2 separate regions of the Homo sapiens genome follow, and region 2 is linked to region 1. The links are contacts of gene promoters, found by promoter capture Hi-C in human tissues and cell types (Jung and others, 2019). All regions are on one chromosome and are shown on one strand. The core of a region is centred on a gene start or on the middle of the fragment in contact, and the rest is flanking DNA. Distances in the headings are between cores, read along the strand shown. Region 1 holds the start of ICAM4 (intercellular adhesion molecule 4 (Landsteiner-Wiener blood group)). Region 2 overlaps COL5A3 (collagen type V alpha 3 chain).

Region 1 (6,348 bases), core at 414-2,913:
GGAGAAAGTGATCGCAAAAACAACAACAACAACAAAAACAAACCAGTTCCTCCGAAGAAGGGCAGTAATGCGGACCCTTAGGTCACAGGACAGAGGCTGGTTAAGGAAGCCTTTATTGATTCCAGAGGGTTCCCCCGCCAATATTTATTTTTATTTTTATTTTATTTTTGGAGACAGGGTCGTGCTCTGTCCCCCAGGCTGGAGTGCAGTGGCACGATCAAGGCTCACTGCAACCTCGACTTTCAGGGCTCAAAGGATCCTCCCAACTCAGCCTCCCGGGTAGCTGGGACCACAGGTGCGGGCCACCACACCAGGCTAATTTGTGTATTTTTTGCATAGACGGGGTCTCACTATGTTGTCCAGGCTGGTCTCGAACTCCTGGGCTCAAGCGATTCTCCTGCCTCGGCCTCCCAAAGTGCTGGGATTACAGGCGTCAGCCACCATGTATGGCCATTTCCCCAGATTGTTTCATATTCCTCTTTTTCTCGCTCAGCCGGCATAGAACATCCCCCTTTACGCCTGGGACTTCATAGCTAGGCACTTGCATAGGTACGCAGCGCCCACAGTGAGGAGGATCCCTACAAGGGCAGCGATGGAACCGGAGGCCAAAGCTGTGGGCGCGGGGCTCCAAGCTGGGAGCAGAAGGCGAGAATTAGGAACGGAACACAGGGAGGTCTGTCGACCCGCGTGGAGCTCACGCTTGGTCTGTGCGCCCTCTCGGGGTCATAACTCTCTCTGCCCCCTTCCTCCTAGTCCCCAGGGTTACAGGGGTGCCTCACCGAGCATCAGTGTAATGGGTGCCGAGCTGTTGCGGACCACCAGGCCGTCGAGATTGAGGCGCGCGTGGCAGATCACGGGCTGCCAGAAGTCGCGGGGTCCAGCAGCAAACTCGTAGGTCAAGGTCACGTTGGCCAGATCCAGGCCGGTGAAGCGCTCCAGGCTTTCGGAATAGATGACCCGGCTTCCATGCCTCAGGGTCACCACCAAGTAGCCCACCGGGAACACCTGCGTCACGTGGCAGCGCAAAGTGTATTTCCTGCCCTTTAAGACCGGAGGCTCCAAAATCACGCTGTGGGGCGGTTCTAAGGCAAGGGGGAGCCTCTGAGTGAGGTCCGCGGGCGCTCCCTATAGAGCGACTGTCAACTACCCTTCCCCCACCTCTTCCAGCCCCCTCCCCTCACCCCAGCCGGGACCGAGCCCCTGTCCCTCACTGTAGGCGGTGATCCTGGAGGTGGCCCAGCGTGTTTTTCCTGCGCAGGTCACGAGGCAGTGCGCGAGGGAGCTCCAGGCCCTCACGTCGAGCAGCTGGTAAGACACCCAACCCGGCCCTCTGAGCGTCTTGCCTTGCCGCAGCGGGGTGCGGAGGCTGGAATTCTGCGGCTGGGGACAGCTGTTGCTGCAATTGAGCTGCACTGACTTCCCCGGCTGCACAGCCACGAACTCCGGGCTCATGCGCACCCAGAAGGGCACTGAGGTCCCGGAGGGCGCGAGAGGGCTACCCTTGGGGCTTTGCGCCCGCTTAGTCCGGCGTCCCAGCGCGCTCCCAACTCCCGGGTAGGCGGCCGCCAAAAAAAACAGCAGCGACAGAGGGAACAGAGACCCCATGGCAAAAAGCCCGGACTAAGGGGCCCCGCGCCAGAGAGCCAGGGCCGGCTCTAGAGATAAGGAGGCCCGCAGCCCCGCCTCCTCGACTCCACCCTGGAGAGGAAGGGGAGGCCCCAACAGAGGGCCCGGGAGTACTGCAAAAAGGGATTCCGCTCCCCAGGTCAAGAATAAGATTCCAGGCCTCATTAGAAACCAAATGTTTTTTTCTGGAGAGGAGTCTTTAGTTTTCACTAGAGACCCAGAAGGTCATAGAAAGTCCGATTTGGACCAGAACCTCAGGGTATGGCCATCAACCCACAATGTTTTCTTGGGGGAGGAAGTGGGAGGATCAGGCTGTGGCTGCTTAGAAAGGACTCCAGCTGGATGTGACACCTCCCCTCAACTCACACAAGGCTGAGGCAGTTGAGAAAGCTTTATTAACTAACACAAAGGAAGTCTGGGCAATGTTGCGAGACCCCGTCTCTGGAAAAAAAAAAAAAATCAAATTTGCCAGGTGTGGTGTTGTGAGCCTATGGTCCCAGCTACTCAGGAGGCTGAGGTGGGAGGATCACTTGAGCCCAAAAGGTCAAGACTGCAGTGAACCATGATTGCACCACTGCACTCCAGCCTGGGTGACAGAGCGAGAGCTTGTCTACACATACACACACACACACACGCGGATGAGGCTTCCAAAGCTGGGAGGGAGTCCTCCAATACCTTGGCCCCCTTCCCCACTGCTTGCAGGACCCTGATCACTGCAGGAAACTGGAGCTGCATAGTGCAAGCTCCCAGTGAAATGCAAACAGGACAAGAGGACAAGGCATAGCTTGGGCATATTCCCTGGGCACTCATGTCCAGACATGACCGCTGAGTGTCATTGTGAACACTGGCAGAAATGTATGTGGGTGGGGAGGTGGCTAACAAAGGTGTCAGTTTTGGGGGGAAGGGAGGAATAAGGCCTCACTGGGTAATCTCTGAACCTGTAACCATTACCAGTCCATATAGTGCTTTTGTGCCGATAGAAAAATCACTCCTTCTGGGGAAAGGCAGGTTGGCCAATGAGAAGTCCCAGCCCCATTTGATCTTTTTGCCAGGCACTCTCCTGCAGTGTACAACCTGTACAACTGTACCTGGTGACCTTGAATGTGATTAGGACTGGGAGCTCCGTGAGGCCAGAGACCTATGTTCATTTAGCCTACATAAAAGACACTCAATAAATAGCTGGTAAAATAACAAATGAATAAATACATATCATCAAGGGTTGGGGTCAGTAGACAGCAGTGCCCAAGCTGGCATCCGTCAGGAAGTGTGGGCCTTTGTGTTTTGATGCTACACATGTCTATGGAGGGCCACTTCTTCTGTAAGTCTGTGGGGCCTCAGCATACCCAATAGGCAGCAAGTTTCAGTATTTCCCAGTTGTATGTCCTCATGGTGGGGCTATGTCTCCCCCACCACTTCCCCTCTCATCAGGCTAGACTTTAACATCCATCAATCATGTCTTGAGTCTTGCTCCTTCCTCTTGGCTTAGTCATGTGACTACAGATCAGATGCGTGGCCTAGTGTTTTAGGTGTGCAGGTACCATGGCCCCAAATGCTGTTGTATCTGACTGAGGACAATGCCCTGTCCTCCGGCGTCCCAGGGCCGGTAGGTGTAGCTGCATGGCATATGTCTTCCACTCTGTTCAGTGTGGCACCACTGCCACCAATATGGGAAGGCCGAGGAAGAGGCCCTGTCCCGGGATAGGTTCAGGGAGGCGTGGCTTGTGTGTTCGGTTTCATGGGGGTCCCTTTTTGGGCCTGTTGTAGTCTGTATTTCTTGATCTTCCGCTGGCGGTTATAGAGGTACGTGCTGAGGCCTGCAGTGCCCATTATGACTGCGGCTGCTACCACAGTGATGATGACAATCTCATACCGGGGGGCTGTGGGGAGGATACAACAGGCGGTGAGGATTGCATTAGGTCCATGGCCCCTGCCCCCACCCAGCTCTGCCCGCCGGCTCACTCACAGAGCACATTCACGGTCACCTTGCGGGTGACCTCCCCTTGAGTGCTCCTGGCCCGACAGAGGTAGGTGCCCTCAAGATCTCGAGTGACAGTCACTGATTCCCCGATGGGCAGTGGGAAAGTGCCATCCTTTAGACACTTGAGCTCGGGCAATGGGTTCCCCCAAGCCTGGCACATTGGAGTCTGCTGGGAATTTTCTGGCCACGTCCAGTTTCCCGGACAATCCCTCTCGTCCAGTCGGGGGCCATCTGGAAAAACACGATGAGATGACATGGAGGTGGGTGGGGGCAGGACTTGGAGGCAAGACCTTATGGGACCTTCAGGGAGATTGGGCCTTGGGGGATAGGGGCCATTGACCAGCAGCCCCACTCACACAGGACACGAAGCTCCCGGGTCTGGTTCTTGTGTATAAGCTGGCCGGCCACCTCCAGGGTTGCAGAGCAGGAGAAGCTGCGCCCGTTGTCCTCTGGGGTGGCCTTCAGCAGGAGCTGGGCCCTCGGGCCCAGTGGCTGGGCTGGAACCCCATTCAGCGTCACCTTGGCTCTAGGGTGGGCCTCACACTTCACTGTCACCTCGGTCCCTTCTGAGACCTCTGGCTTCGTCAGAATCACGTTGGGCGCCGGAAAGCCTGGAATAGGCACACAGTGAGCCCCGCCCCGGGTTCAGGTCACACCCCCAAGAAGCCCCACTCCGCCCCTGCCCCTTCTTACTGTAGATGGTCACTGTCTGCAGTGTCTCCTGGCTCTGGTTCCCCAGTATTACTGCACACGTCAGCCGCTGGGTGCCCTCGTCCTCTGCGGTCACACTGACTGAGGCCTTGGCCGAGAAGGAGTCGTTGCCATAGGTGACTGTGGGGTTCAACCTCTGGTCCCCCAGTGCCAGGTGGACCTGGGCCTCCGAGACTGGGAACAGCCCGTCCAGGGAACAGACCACGGTCCCCTGCGTGTCCACCTCTAGGACCCGGGGGCTGACAAGTTGTGGGGGAGTCGCTGGCAGGACTAGGGAGAGAAGAAAGGTGTGAGCAGACAGGGATGGACGTCCCGAAGCCCTTCTCTGGGGCATTTCATTCCCCCTCCTGCGAGATCCTCTTCCAGGGCCACTCAGCAGCCTAGGTCACATACGCCTAGAACACATGCACCCCTTAGCCGGGGCCACACCCATCTCAAAAGATCCTGTGGCCACAGGCACCGCATTGCAGGATACCCCACCCCCACCTTCTCCCTGCTGGCTTCTTCAATCCTCACCAAAGGTCTGGAGCTGGTAGGGGGCCGAGGTGTTCTCAAACAGCTCCAGCCCTTGGGGCCGCAGGTCCAGTTCAGTGCGGCACGAGAAATTGGCTCCATGGTGATCTCTCCTCACCAGCACCGTGGTCGTGACCTCAGCGGGCTCCCCCACAGCTGGCTCCCGTTTCAGCTCCTTCTCCCCACGGAGCAGCACCACGGTGAGGTTGGCCCGGGGTGCCCCACCCTCCACCTGGCAGCGTAGGGTAAGGTTCTTGCCCACTGGCTGCCAAGAGGGGAGGGGTGCCAGTTCCACCCGTTCTGGAGTCCCTGCAGGAAAACAGAGGTGGGGGTGTCTGGTGAAGTGGACCTTGCTGCCTGCCTAACAGACGAACTGCACCTGCCTGGGAGCCCTACCTCTTCAGTATCTCCCCCAAACACGCCCAGACACCTAAGCAGATAGGAATGTCAAGATCTTCAGTGAAAACTGGTAAGAGGGCCCCGAGTGTTTGTGAAGGGGATCAAAATATTCCTTATTCATGACAGCAGCATCTTAGAGTGAAAAGTGGAAAAGAACTTCAAAGTCTATTGCTAGGTGTCTGGTCAAATAAATTCAGCAGCCCAGTGCACTAGACTGGGCAAACAGTGGCTCGATCTTGGCTCACTGCAACCTCTGCCTCTGGGATTCAGGGGATTCTCCTGCCTCAGCCTCCTGAGTAGCTTAGATTACAGGCACACACCACCACACCAGGTTAATTTTTGTATTTTTATTTTTAATTAATTAATTAATTAAGTTTTTAGACTGAGTCTCCTTCTGTCGCCCAGGCTGGAGGGTGATGGCATGATCTTGGCTCACTGCAACCTCTGCCTCCTGGGTTCAAGCAATTCTCCTGCCTCAACCTCCTGAGTAGCTGGGATTACAGGCACGTGTCACCACACCCAGCTAATTTTTGTATTTTTAGTAGAAACGGGGTTTCAGCATGTTGCCCAGGCTGGTCTCGAATTCCTGACCTCAAGTGATCTGCCCACCCCGGCCTCCCAAAGTGCTGGGATTACAGGTGAAAGTAAATGAGCCTGGCCTAGACATTCTTTAAAAAACAAAACAAAACAAAAAAAAAAACCTGTTGGCCAGGTGTGATGGCTCAGGCTGTAATCCTAGCACTTTGTGAGGCCAAGGCAAGAGGGTCACTTGAGGCCAGGAGTTCAAGACAAGCCTGGGCAACATAGGGAGACCCCCATCTCTAAGAAAAATTAAAAAAAGGTTGGCAGGGCGCGGTGGCTCACGCCTTTAATCCCAGCACTTTGGGAGGCCAAGGAGGGTGGATCCACGAAGTCAGGAGTTCGAGATAAGCCTGACCAACAGAGTGAAACCCCGTCTCTATTAAAAATACAAAAATTAGTCTGGCATGGTGGTGCACGCCTGTAGTCTCAGCTACTCGGGAGGCTGAGGCAGGAGAATCTCTTGAACCTGGGAGGTGGAGGTTGCAGTGAGCTGAGATCGTGCCACTGCACTCCAGCCTAGGTGACAGAGCGAGACTCCA
Region 2 (6,904 bases), core at 1,829-4,328, 310 kb after region 1:
CACATCTTACATATCTTGAATTAATTATAACTTATAGTCAAATGTACTTATGCAAAAACGTACTTATATGAAAACATAACATTTGTTTGCCAATGTTTTGATGGGTGAGGACACTGATGAGATTCATTTTTCTGCCTAAACTATTCCCATATTATATCACTGATGAGTTCTGTTTCTCTAGAGTAGAGCAGGAACCTAAAGACATTTGGGGCTGGGCGCAGTGGCTCATGGCTGTAATCCCAGCACTTTGGGAGGCCGAGGCGAGTGGATCACCTGAGGTCGAGAGTTCACCACCAGCCTGGCCAACATGGCAGAACCCCATCTCTACTAAAAATACAAGAATTAGCTGGGTGCAGTGGCGGGTGCCTGTAATCCCAGGTACATGGAGGCTGAGGCAGGAGAATTGCTTGAGCCCGGGAAGCAGAGGATGCAGTGAGCTGAGATCGTGCCACTTACTCCACCCTGGGCAACAGAGTGAGACTCTGTCTCAAAAGAAAAAAAAAATAGACATTTGGGAAGATAATTGAGTGCAGAATCCTCCTAGAGTTTCACATTTTTGTGCTGTTGAGCTGATAGTTATCTTGCCTACGTTGGATTTGACAGTGGTTTTTTTTTTTTATTTTTTCAGTGATTTCCCTTTACATTGACTCCTTTTCCTTTAACTTAGATTTTTTTTTCTTTTTAACGATTGAGAAAAAAACTTTGAAGCTTAGTTTTGATGGACAACTTTATTCTCCTTCCTTCCTTCCTCCTTTCTTCCTTCCTTCCTTTCTTCCCTCCCTCCCTCACTGCGTCCCCCTCTTTTTTCTTTTCTTTTCCTTCTTTTTTCTCTTTCTTTCCTTCTTTCTTTCTTCTTTTTTCTTTCTTTCTTTCTGTCTGTCTTTCTTTCTCTCTCTCTCTTCTTTCTTTCTTTCTCTCTCTCTCTCTTTCTCTTTCTTTCTTTCTTTCTTTCTTTCTTTCTTTCTTTCTTTCTTTCTTTCTTTCTTTCTTTCTTTCTTTCTTCTTTCTTTTTGCTTGCTTGCTTGCTTTCCTTTCAGACAGGGTGTCACTCTGTCATTCAGGCTGGAGTGCAATAGTGCGATCATAGCTTATTACAGCCCCCAATTCTTGGACTCAAGCAGTCCTCCTGCCTCAGCCTCCTGAGTAGCTGGGAACAACAGGTGCGCACCACCTGATGAATTTTTAAATTTTTTACAGAGACAGGGTCTCGCTATGCTGCCCAGGCTGATCTCAAACTCCCAGCTTCAAGTGATTCTCCTACCTTGGCCTCCCAAAGTGCTGGGATTACAAGCATAAGCCACTGTACCTGACATAGACTAAGATTTTAGAAAGTCCTTGTGTGCATGTGTTCAGGATCCTTGAAGAGTGTTGGGGCCAGGTTGGTGGCTCACACCTGTAATCTCAGCACTTTCAGAGGCTGAGGTAGGAGAATCACTAGAGGCCGGGAGTTCAAGACCAGCCTGGGCAACATAGTGAGACCCCATATCTACTAAAAATTTATTTCAAAAATTAGCTGGACATGGTGGCGTGAACCTGTAGTCCCAGCTATTCAGGAGGTTGAGGTAGGAGGATCACTTGAGCCCAAAAGGTTGAAGCTGCAGTGAGCTATGATTGCACCACTGCACTCCAGCCTGGGTGACAAAGTGAGACTCTGTCTCTTAAAAATAAAACAAACAAAAAAAGAGTATAGAGACCATGGAACCCCCAGATGGGAAGGGAGAGTAGAGGGAGCCTGAAATGGGCTTTGAGGCGGGATGCCACCACAGACTGTGTAACTTGGGCAACTGTCTTTTCTGATCTGAACTCAGTCTGCACAGTGAGGTGTGGGAGAGGATATCAGAGCCTGTGATGTCTTCCCCCAGGTGGAGGAAGGGTTCCTCCAGCATGGACTGGAGTCAGTTAACAAATATTAAAAAGCACTCACCGTGTGCCAGGCAGTGGGGAATAAGACCAATGAGCTATGTCACAGTGGGGGAAAACAGGCATTGAATAAATAAGTCAATAAGGGTCATTTCAACGCAAGTGTTCTTGGGAAAACAAAATAGCATAATGTGACAGACAGAGGGTGACTTGGGCAATGTGGAAGCCAGGATGGTGGTAGAAAGGCATTCTAAGGAGGTGACATCTGAATGAGATCTAAATGGTCAGGAGTGGCTGACTTTGTGGAGGCCTAGGAGACAAGCATTTCAGCCAAAGACAGCAGCCAGTGCAAAGGGCTGCAGTGAAATGAGAAGGGAGGAGAGGAGGGGAGAGGAGAGAAGAGGGCTGCCTTGTAGGAGGCTGGGGCTGTAGAGACCAAGGAAGCTTCTGGAATCAGTGACCTGGAAATGCCTCAAAGGATGGTATGAGGGGCCAATTCCACCCACCACTCACTCCTCACCCTCATGTCTTCTTTCTAATTCTCTCCACTCAGGGATCTATTGGATTTCCCGGTCCCCTGGGACCCATAGGAGAGAAAGGGAAGTCGGTGAGTCATGACCGGGGGTAAGGGAGAGGGGAGAACTTGTCTGAGGGGAACAGCATGTGTGGTTGTGTCTGATGATGGGTGGACCCTGGGTGTTTGTGTCTATGCCTGGAACATTTGTGTGCACACATGCTATTATATGCAATGCATGACACATGTAGGTGATTACACATGGTATTATCATGAATATGACTGTAAGCACATGTATATGTGTTTCATGTATCTTTCAATATCGATGAGACAGGGTTTGAATGCCGCAGCCTGCAGGCCTGTGCCTGGGTGAACAAGGGCATGAATCTGCGTGCACTTTGCATGATGGTGGGCATAAATGTGTGCAAGAAGCTTGTACATATGCGTGAAAGGACATGTGTATACACATGTGTGTGTTTCTGTGCACACTGAGTGATGGGTATACATGCATGTATTGTATTTGTGTTGCTATGTGTGTATTGTAACAGTGTTAATGAACATTGTATGTACGTACATGAGTGTATGTATACTGCTGTGCTTACCAAGACAAAGTCCTCAGCTGAATCCAGGCCTTCATGTGTTTACAGTGGGTATACATGTGTGCAAGAGATGTATTGCATGATGAGTTCTGTGTCATCTTCAGGCTGTGGATTGCCAAATGCATGCCATGATTACATGCAATCATGTATGCATACTGCACAGCTGTGATCAATATATGTCTTGTGGGCAAACATGCTTGCACGTTTGTACTCTGTAGATGCAATCATAGTTGTAATTGTGTGTTTGAGATCTTTGTGTGGTTTTGAGTATAAGTTGTATTTGTGTGTATGTGTATGACTGAAAAGCTTGTGAATAAATATGTGGCAGACAGCTTTCTGGGTCTGTGACTGGGTGTCTTTTTGTGTTTGCGTCATACCTTTGCACCCTAACTCTCTTCTGCTTTCTCTCTTACAATTCATTTTCAGGGAAAGACAGGGCAGCCAGGCCTGGAAGGAGAGCGGGGACCACCAGTAAGAAAATAGACAGTGCCCCCTACCCTGCTGGGACTTGGGGACAGGGCTGGGAAGGAAAGGTAGTGGAGAGGTCATCTGTGGGCAGGGAAAGGGTTTGGGTTATATCAATGTCCCTGGTCGGGCAGGAGAGGGAGTCACAAGGGGAGGGGACCTGGAAGACTTGGTCTCATCTCCCAGGCTCCCCCACCCCCTCATATCTGATCTTTGCCTTTTTTTTTTGTTCAGGGTTCCCGTGGAGAGAGGGGGCAACCGGGTGCCACAGGGCAACCAGGCCCCAAGGTATGGGATGGGTGGGCAATCAAGGCCCCCCATGCCCCAGGCTCAGCCAGTCCCTCCAAATTCTTCCCAGTTGAGTTTGTTCTGGGGCCTGAGTCTCATTCACTCTGTCCTAGGGCGATGTGGGCCAGGATGGAGCCCCTGGGATCCCTGGAGAAAAGGTGAGTGTGTGTGTGTGTGTGTGTGTGTGAATGTGTGTGTGTGTGAGAGAGAGAGATTCTGAGTGGAGGACAAACCCAAGAGATGAAGAGACATTATAATGCAGTGGTAAGAGCACAGCTTAATTGGGTGTGGTGGTGCACGCCTGTAGTCCCACCTATGCTGGAAGCTGAGATGAGAGAATTGCTTGAGCCCAGGAGTTGGAAGCTGAAGTGAGCTAATCACACCACTGCACTCCAGCTTGGGTGACAGAGCAAGACTCCATCTTTAAGAAAAGAAAAAAAGAAGGAGCACAGCCTGTGAAGTCAGAGAGCCATGAGTTCAAGTCCTGGCTCTGCCACTCACCTACTGTGTGACCTTGGGCAAGTCACTTAACCACTCTGTGCCTTAGTTTTCTCCTCTGTAAAATGGGAGTAACCTCAGTCTCCAACCCAAAGGGCTACAGTGGTGAATAAAATGACTGACTTGTGGAGAATGCCCTGCCCATGCCTGGCATGCAGTAAGCACTCAATATGTGCTCGATCCTGTTGTCATTATGTGGGGCTCAGGGAGTGGGCAGGGAGGCAGGGGGGATGAGATCATGATTTCTGTTTCCATTTCAGGGCCTCCCTGGTCTGCAAGGCCCTCCAGGATTCCCTGGGCCAAAGGGCCCCCCTGTGAGTGAGGTCACCCTCATTGGGGGTTGGGTGGGTGGAGGATGTGGGAAGGGAGGAAGCCCTGTATCTGTGCCCCAACTTTTTCCCACCTCATCCCCCAGGGTCACCAAGGTAAAGATGGGCGACCAGGGCACCCTGGACAGAGAGGAGAACTGGTGAGTAACCCCTCAACCTTTGATTCCTGATCCTTTTTTTTTTTTTTCTTTTTGAGACAGAGTCTCACTCTGTCACCTGGGCTAGAGTGCAGTGGGGCAATCTCGGCTCACTGCAACCTTTGCCTCCCAGGTTCAAGCAATTCTCCTGCCTCAGCCTCCCGAGTGGCACTACAGGCGCGTGCCACCACGCCCGGCTAATTTTTGTATTTTTAGTAGAGACGGGGCTTCATCATGTTGACCAGGCTGCTCTCAAACTCCTGGCTTCAAGTGACCCACCTGCCTCTGCCTCCCAAAGTGCTGGGATTACAGGCGTGAGCCACCGGACCGGCCAGATTCCTGATCCTATCAGGCCTTCCCTGTCTCCTGCTCCTCCATCCCTTCCCCATGTAACACCGCCCCCACATTTAATTTTTCTCTCTAGGGCTTCCAAGGTCAGACAGGCCCGCCTGGACCAGCTGGTGTCTTAGGCCCTCAGGTCAGAGTGGACTCCATAAACCTCCCTTGTTTTGTACCAGTTGGGGGATATTTAGGGGAAAGCTGGACTCCTGAGCGACTCCCCTAGGCCACCCCCACTCAACAGGAGCCTTCTTCCTCACCAGGGAAAGACAGGAGAAGTGGGACCTCTAGGTGAAAGGGGGCCTCCAGGCCCCCCTGGACCTCCTGGTGAACAAGGTCTTCCTGGCCTGGAAGGCAGAGAGGGGGCCAAGGTGAGACACTGTCCACTGGAGATCTTGGTTGAACATCCAAGATCAACCAAGGACTCAGAATCAGTCTCATGGGGGAGGGGGCCCTGAGTCACAGATTGGAGGGAGACATCCCCTCCCTGGAGCTTGACTTCCCTCCTTTGCACTCCTGTAGGGGGAACTGGGACCACCAGGACCCCTTGGGAAAGAAGGGCCAGCTGGACTCAGGGGCTTTCCCGGCCCCAAAGGGGGCCCTGGGGACCCGGTGAGTATCTTTGGAGACCCTCCTGCATGTCCCTTAGAGAAGGAAAGGATGGGGGGGTCAGGGGAGGGATGGGGAATAGCATTTGGGGTGCGGGAAATGATGAAAGCAAAAAAAATGGTGGAGGGAACTGGGGAAGGCAGACCCCTCAAAGCTCAGTGTCCAGTCCCAGGAGAGAGGTGGGGACTGTGAGCTCCCCACAGAGGAAGACAGGACCTGGGGACACCTTTGGGAGTCTCTTAACTGTGAATTATCTCCTCCTTCAGGGACCTACTGGCTTAAAGGGTGATAAGGGCCCCCCAGGGCCCGTGGGGGCCAATGTAAGTATAACCCCATGTGCTGGGTGGGGGCAGGGTGGAGGGGACTCAAGGTGTCTTGGAAGCTTGACATTGTCATGATAAAACCCATGATGGAGGCTGAGGCAGGCAGATCACTTGAGGTCAGGAGTTCAAGATCAGCCTGGCCAACATGGTGGAACCCCGTCTCTACTAAAAATACAAAAATTAGCCAGGCATGGAGGCAGATGCCTGTAATCCCAGCTACTCTAGAGGCTGAGGCAGGAGAATCGCTTGAACCTGGGAGGTGGAGGTTGCAATGAGCCAAGGTCAGTTCTGTTGCTCACTGGCTGGGCCGTTGTATTCCTTGGCAAGCCTCAGTTTCCTTGTCTGTAAAATAGCCATGATGGGAAGCCTTATCTCATGTATGATCACAAACCTCATTGAGATCATTTATCCAGTAAATACTTACCTGTGCATTGGCCATCAACATATAAAAACCCCTTTTCTTGGGCCAGGTGTAGTTGCTCATGCCTATAATCCCAGCTCTTTGGGAGGCTGAGGCTGGAGAATCGCTTGAGCCCAGGAGTTTGAGACCAGCCTGGGCAACATAGCCAGGTCCTGTCTCTACAAATATATATATATATATATATATATATATATATATATATGTATAGGCTGCCAGGAGGACTATGGCTTTTGTTCTAAGTGAGATGGGAGCCATGGAGTGTTCTTGAGCAGGAGAAGAATATGCCCTGCCCCTCAGGTGCTCACAGGCACCCTCTGGCTGCTGCAGGAGGGGAACAGGTTAGATACAATCCTGGTAACCTCAGAACTCAGTGCCTGGTGGCTTAAAAACCCTCCATAAAGGACAGCTACTACTGGTATTATACCTGATTCATCACCCCTGTTCTCAGGGCTCCCCTGGTGAGCGCGGTCCTTTGGGCCCAGCAGGAGGCATTGGACTTCCTGGCCAAAGTGGCAGCGAAGG

What was found. The method cuts DNA at HindIII sites, captures the fragments that hold promoters and counts their contacts. A contact is called where the count stands out against the background at its distance.
Region 2: a fragment that was not itself captured here is called in contact with the fragment with the promoter of ICAM4 in region 1 in 1 of the 25 tissues and cell types used here (dorsolateral prefrontal cortex).

What each region holds. Positions count from the first base shown.
Region 1 is chr19:10,282,270-10,288,617 of GRCh38, reverse strand. It overlaps ICAM4 (intercellular adhesion molecule 4 (Landsteiner-Wiener blood group)), which reads right to left and starts at 1,663. Exons shown (of 3, transcript NM_001544.5): 1 at 1,212-1,663; 2 at 780-1,082; 3 at 98-632. The coding sequence starts at 1,605. The coding sequence ends at 514. It overlaps ICAM1 (intercellular adhesion molecule 1), which reads right to left. Exons shown (of 7, transcript NM_000201.3): 3 at 4,832-5,137; 4 at 4,298-4,585; 5 at 3,961-4,215; 6 at 3,590-3,835; 7 at 2,003-3,503. The coding sequence ends at 3,331. It overlaps ICAM4-AS1 (ICAM4 antisense RNA 1), which reads left to right. Exons shown (of 1, transcript NR_186335.1): 1 at 1-2,817. It overlaps LIMASI (lncRNA inflammatory and mucous response associated, antisense to ICAM1), which reads left to right and starts at 5,168. Exons shown (of 4, transcript XR_007067138.1): 1 at 5,168-5,297. RefSeq lists enhancers at 1,536-1,675, 1,022-1,991, 2,046-2,095. The HindIII fragment of the contact is 9,158 bases long and covers 738-6,348 here.
Region 2 is chr19:9,977,628-9,984,531 of GRCh38, reverse strand. COL5A3 (collagen type V alpha 3 chain) reads left to right here. Exons shown (of 67, transcript NM_015719.4): 32 at 2,414-2,467; 33 at 3,400-3,444; 34 at 3,673-3,726; 35 at 3,840-3,884; 36 at 4,485-4,538; 37 at 4,640-4,693; 38 at 5,115-5,168; 39 at 5,293-5,400; 40 at 5,552-5,641; 41 at 5,905-5,958; 42 at 6,831-6,904. Among named protein-coding and RNA genes, the nearest start is that of COL5A3, 29 kb to the left of the region's middle. The HindIII fragment of the contact is 3,144 bases long and covers 1,507-4,650 here.